Linked DNA regions of Homo sapiens: region 1 is linked to region 2. The links are contacts of gene promoters, found by promoter capture Hi-C in human tissues and cell types (Jung and others, 2019). All regions are on one chromosome and are shown on one strand. Each heading gives the region's core, a stretch centred on a gene start or on the middle of the fragment in contact. The rest is flanking DNA. Distances are from core to core; before and after follow the strand shown.

Region 1 (2,700 bases), core at 199-2,698, 720 kb before region 2:
CCTGGGAGAAGCTTCTGCACCAGGCTCTGTGCTAGTGCATCCTGTGCACCCTCCCACTTCACCTGTGGACACACCCATCAATCCTGCCATTTGCAATGAGCAGATTGAGACCACGTTCCGCAAAGGGGAGAGCAGGTCTAAGTCAGAGGGCAAGGTCTGGGGGAGGAGAAAGGTCAGGGAAGGCTTCTGAAAGGGGAAGTGAGTGGCCAACTTTTATGTGGGTTTGGCAACAGGACCCCATTGGGACATCTTACTGGGGAGGAACAAGATAAGAGGAAGGTGCCTCCGGATGTGGTGGAGGTGAGAGACAGCCCACACCTCTCCTCTGGCCCACCTATACCCTCATAAGAGGAAATAGGCCAGGTAGGGAGAGGACCCTGAACAGTGGGTACAGGAGGCCTCGAGTCCAGCAATGGAGAATGTGGGAACGCCAGGGGTTCACCTTTCTGTGCACCCAACCCCCTGCCCAAGAGCCCCGCAGAGGTGCATTAATGTGGAAAGACAGGCAGGAAAAGGATTCAACACAGGCCAAGAGTGGGAGAACAGGGAGGTGAGAAGGGCTTGGGTTGGCACCTCACAGAAATGAGTAAGCAGAGGAATGAGTAAGACGCCTCCCCTGCTTCTCTGCCACCCCAGACCCCAGCCCACCCCCTCTCACCTGAGCCTCATTCTTACCCCTCAGGAAGTCCATCCACCCTGAGACCCCAGACCCGTCCTGCTGCCACACTCACCAGGCCCAGGTGACCCAAGAACCAATTCCGTTTCGGGGGTTGCGGGAAACACCGGAGGCGGCAGCAGTTGTCATAGAAGGTATAGGTCCAGGCCAGGATGCGGGCCAGGAGCCAGGAGGCCCCAACCAGCAGCAGGAGCAGCCACGGGGATGCTGCCATTGGCCAAAGGCCCAGCGAGGACAGGCTCAGCTGTGGCATCCTGCAGGGCAGATGGGGTGGTGAGTGAGGTCCTGAGGCCCAGGGAAGGGCCCAGGGAGCTCCAGGGACAGTGGAGAGAGGCAGAGACGGGCAGTGCTGGAGATAGAACAGTAAGAGTAAACAGGGATGGATAAACAGGGGCTGAGGGGTAAAGTCCAGAAAGGCCCAGCCAAAACCAGCAACCAAGTGGCCTCCAGTTACCCGGTAAGCACTTAGATTGAGAAAGACAGAGAAACTGATTAAAGTCCAGAAAGGCCCAGCCTGAATCATTAGGACGTTGCCAGGGGCTTGGTTTCAGTTAGAAAACCACTCATCCTCCAAGCCAGCAACCAGGAGCTGCCTGGGCCTTGGGCAGCAATGGAGAATGTGGGAAGGCTGGGGCTCCCCTATGTGTGCGCCCAATCCCTTGCCCAGTGCCCATCTCCATCACAGGCTAGGATGCCCCAGGCCCACCACCCCCACCCTGGCACCTTCTGTCAGGAGCACCTTGTCCCACACAACCTCCTCTCCCCTTCTTCTGGGAGGTTTTTTCCCCTGGCCCCTGATGTAGGGAAGGCTGTGGGAGGCTAGGCTGGGCTGGGCTGGGCCAGCCAATCCCCACAGCCTGGGTGCCGCTCCCATGTCTGGGCAGCTGGCCAAAACCTGGGTGTGGGAGACCAGCTGGATGCAGAGGAACCAGCTCAGGGTGACACAGCACAGGCACTGGATCCTCAGGTCTCAGCACCTCCCACATAAGGTGGAGAGTAAGCCGAGAGGGGTCAGATAGAGTTTCCACTGTGTGACACCTGCTCTTAAAGAGCACCTACTGAGTGTGTGGCAGATAAAAGCATGAACTTGAGAGTTCAGGTGTCAAGCGAGCCAGGCCAGGCCAAGCCTTGTTCCAGATCATCTCCTGTGCTCCTCTCTAACCCTGGGCCGGTAGGACACCGTGTACCACTTCTGGATGCTGAATCAGGCAACCTGGAAGAGACAAGCCTCTATCCCCCTGCTGCTGGATGGAGTTCAAGTCTTGCCTCCAGGCAGTCCAGGGCCCTGTTGGAGACCTGACTGCTAGGAACGGGAACAAAGAATCCAGCCCCACTGAGGATTACCTGGGTCAGATTCTGGAGATTAAGAGCTCAGCTGGAAAAGCAAATCTGGAGGCCGGACTCAGTATAGGAGGACAGAGCGGGGACGTGGAGGGTTAGGATGAGAGGGAACGGATGGGGTCCAGGCAGGGGAAGGGCAGAGCCAGGGAACCATGAATGGAGTCCTCATTCTGCCTCATCCTTGCTCTGACTTTGGTCAGTACTGCCCCTCCTGGGTGCAGTCTTCCCATCTGGGAAATGGGATGTTCGATGAGGGCCTTAGCGGGGGACAATGAGGGCTCCTAAGAGGAGGGAGCCCCAAAAAGGAGTGAAGGGAAAGGGTGGCAACTAGCACTTGAGCTGCTGTGTGCCAGTCTCTACTCTGCACAAAGGCTGCATGGAAAGTACTTCTACTGTGTGCCAATACTCTAAATGAAGGGCAGCTACTGTGTGCCAGGTGCTAAATCCTGTCTACTCTGTGCCAAGTGCTTTCCATAAAGTGTGCCTACTGTGTGCCAGGTGCTCTACATTAACCCTGTATACTCAGTTCCTGATATTCCTCATAGAGTGCCTACTGTGTGCCACCTGCTCTACATAGTGAGTGCCTATTGAGTGCCACCCCCTGTATATGAAGAGTGCCCACTGAGCACCAGTTGCTGTCTACATAACACATGCCTACTGAGTGCCAAGTGCTCTACATAAAC
Region 2 (2,953 bases), core at 64-2,563:
AGAAGTCGAAATTCTGAAATTCGTGTATCATTCTCTGGTTCCATGTGGTAGAGGTGACTATAAAAAAAAAAAAAAGAGAGAGAGAGAAAATACATGACATAAGCATGCTTTTTTCACCCATCAGAAAAGCTATTATTTATATCCTACAGTCAGCAAGTTAATTTCTATATTTTGTGTGTGAATCTGGTCTACTTTATGAGATCTCCCATCCCATCTCTGCTTAGGAATTCCTTTCCCATGATGCTCAACTTTTCCCCAAATGGTCATTTATTTAAAAACTTTGCCGGGTGCGGTGGCTCACACCTGTAATCCCAGCACTTTGGGAGGCAGAGGTGGGCGGGTCACCTGAGGTCGGGAGTTCAAGACCAGCCTGACCAACATGGAGAAAACCCATCTCTACTAAAAATACAAAGTTAGCCGGATGTGGTGGTGCGTGCCCGTAATCCCAGCTACTCGGGAGGTTGAGGCAGGAGAATCATTTGAACCTGAGAGGCAGAGGTTGCAGGGAGCCAAGATGGCGCCATTGCACTCCATCCAGCCTGGGCTACAAGAGCAAAACTCCATCTCAAACAAAACAAAACAAAACAAAACAAAAACCAATACTTTAATGATAAATTCTTTCATGGATTTGAGGAATTTAAATTGAGTGTTGTCAACGTTCCAGGCTCTGTCTAGACAATGAGTGAACAGTGCTGAAAAACAAAAGTTCCTACAGTGAAGTATGGAGAAGAATACAAGTAAATCATATACTGTGTCAGATGGTAACCAGGGCTAGCAAGAAAAAGAAAGAAGGTAAAAAGGCGAGGGTGGATAGAGGATGTTAATTTTCCTAGGTGTCCAGAGAATACTAGCAGTCAAGGTGATAGGTGCCCATCAATAGTGGATTGGACAAAGAAACTGTGGTACTTATACACCATGGAATACTAGGCAGCCATAAAAAAGAATGAAATCATGTCCTTTCCAGCTACATGGATGAAGCTAGAGGCCGTTATTCTGAGCGACCTAATGCAAGAACAGAAAACCAAATATCGCATGTTCTCACTTATAAATGGTAGCTAAACATCGAATATACGTGAACACAAAGATGGGAACAATTGACACTGGAGACCGCTGGACAGAGGATGGAGGGAGGGGGATGTGAGCTGAAGAACCATCTGTTGGGTCCTATGCTTACCTCCTGAGTGATGGGATTGTTAGGACCCGAAGCCTCAGCATCACACAATTTACCCGTGTAACAAACCTGCACATGTACCCTTTAATCTGTAAGAAAAGCTGAAATTTTTAAAAAGAGAAATGAGACCTCAAGGAAGACAGGGCGGGAGCCATGAGGATATCTGGGAATGTGTGTGCCCAGCAGAAAGAATGGCCGGTGCAAAGGTGTAGAGGAAGGTTTCAGATGTTCAAGGCCAACGAGGAAGCCAGTGTGGCAGGGAAATCTGTGAGAGGTAAGTGATGGGAGATGGTGTCAGAAGATGTTGCACTATGAGGTGACTTCATTGCTGCTGAAGCTTCAAAATACAAGAAGTCCCTCTGCCCAGATTTTGTTTGGTTTGGTTTGGTTTTGAGACAGAGTCTCACTCTGTCGGCCAGGCTGGAGTGCAGTGGCATGATGTGGGTTCACTGCAACCTCCACCTCCTGGGTTCAAGAGATTCTCCTGCCTCAGCCTCCCAAGTAGCTGAGACTACAGGTGCCTGCTACCATGCCCTGCTAAGATTTATATTTTTTGGTAGAGATGGGGCTTCACCATGTTGGCCAGGCTGGTCTCAAACTCCTGACCTCAAGTGATCCTTTTGTCTCGGCCTCCCAAAGTGCTGGGATTACAGGCGTGAGCCACCACGCCCAGGCTTGTCCTGATGTTTTCTATTTGCACTTTAATAAATTGGCTCCATGTCCCATGAATTGAAATGCATCCTTTGTTTATTTCCATATGCTGCCTTGCGTGCTGACCTCTGTATTCTGAGTCACCTTTTGGAATATATTGAGTCCAGGTCCCTTTACTTTTTTTTTTTTTTTTTTTTTTTTTGAGACGGAGTCTCGCTCTGTTGCCCAGGCTGGAGTTCAGTGGCGCGATCTCGGCTCACTGCAACTTCCGCCTCCCAGGTTCACACCATTCTCCTGACTCAGCCTCCCAAGTAGCTGGGACTACAGGCGCCCGCCACCACGCCCGGCTAATTTTTTTGCATTTTTAGTAGAGGCAGGGTTTCACCATGTTAGCCGGGATGGTCTCGATCTCCTGACCTCGTGATCTGCCTGCCTCGGCCTCCCAAAGTACTGGGACTACAGGCGTGAGCCACTGCGTCCCTCTACTCTTAAAAGGGATATCTCTACCTCATTTGTATGTCATATTCTTTTATGCCTAGGTCTTTGCAACTTTAATTATTTATCCATGTTGAAAACATTAAATTATTGCTACTTCATATCTTGTTTCAGTTAATTAGCAAGGCTCCTTTCAATTCTGTTTAATGATGTTATTTTGAAATCACTCTCCCCACTAAAGACAGACACACATATGCACAATTAGTACAGACACACACACAGGCACACACTTGAAGCTGAATGAGGACTCCTGGGACTGTGTTTATAGCAAGCTGTTCTCACCTCCAGTCACACCATTAATATTAGAGAGGAATGGAAATGAAGCAAGCTTTCAATATCAGATTATCTTTCCATTTTTTTGTATGGTCATGTTCTGTCTTCTGTTTAAAAAAACATAAAAAATTATAAAAATACAACAATTTTGCTTGATAAACATACAGAGGATAATTAAATAAAACCCAAGGGGGGAAAATCTAATAACCTCAGATAATTCCTGGGAGACTAGGAAGAAGAAATAGCTTGCTTGAATGAATTAATGGCATTCGCAGTGACCTGGATGAGATTGGAGACAATTATTCTTTTTTTTTTTTTTGAGACAAAGTCTCCCTCTTTTCCCCCAGGCTGGAGTGCAATGGC

Evidence for each region. Contacts are between HindIII fragments. The study calls those that stand out against the background at their distance.
Region 1: a contact is called between the fragment with the promoter of CYP4F3 here and a fragment that was not itself captured in region 2, in 4 of the 25 tissues and cell types used here (dorsolateral prefrontal cortex, heart right ventricle, lymphoblastoid cells and 1 more).

The regions. Positions count from the first base shown.
Region 1 is chr19:15,639,645-15,642,344 of GRCh38, reverse strand. CYP4F3 (cytochrome P450 family 4 subfamily F member 3) reads right to left here and starts at 1,448. Exons shown (of 13, transcript NM_000896.3): 1 at 1,400-1,448; 2 at 732-930. The coding sequence starts at 929. The HindIII fragment of the contact is 9,363 bases long and covers 1-2,700 here.
Region 2 is chr19:14,924,143-14,927,095 of GRCh38, reverse strand. No RefSeq gene overlaps it. Among named protein-coding and RNA genes, the nearest start is that of OR7C2, 16 kb to the left of the region's middle. The HindIII fragment of the contact is 7,045 bases long and covers 1-2,953 here.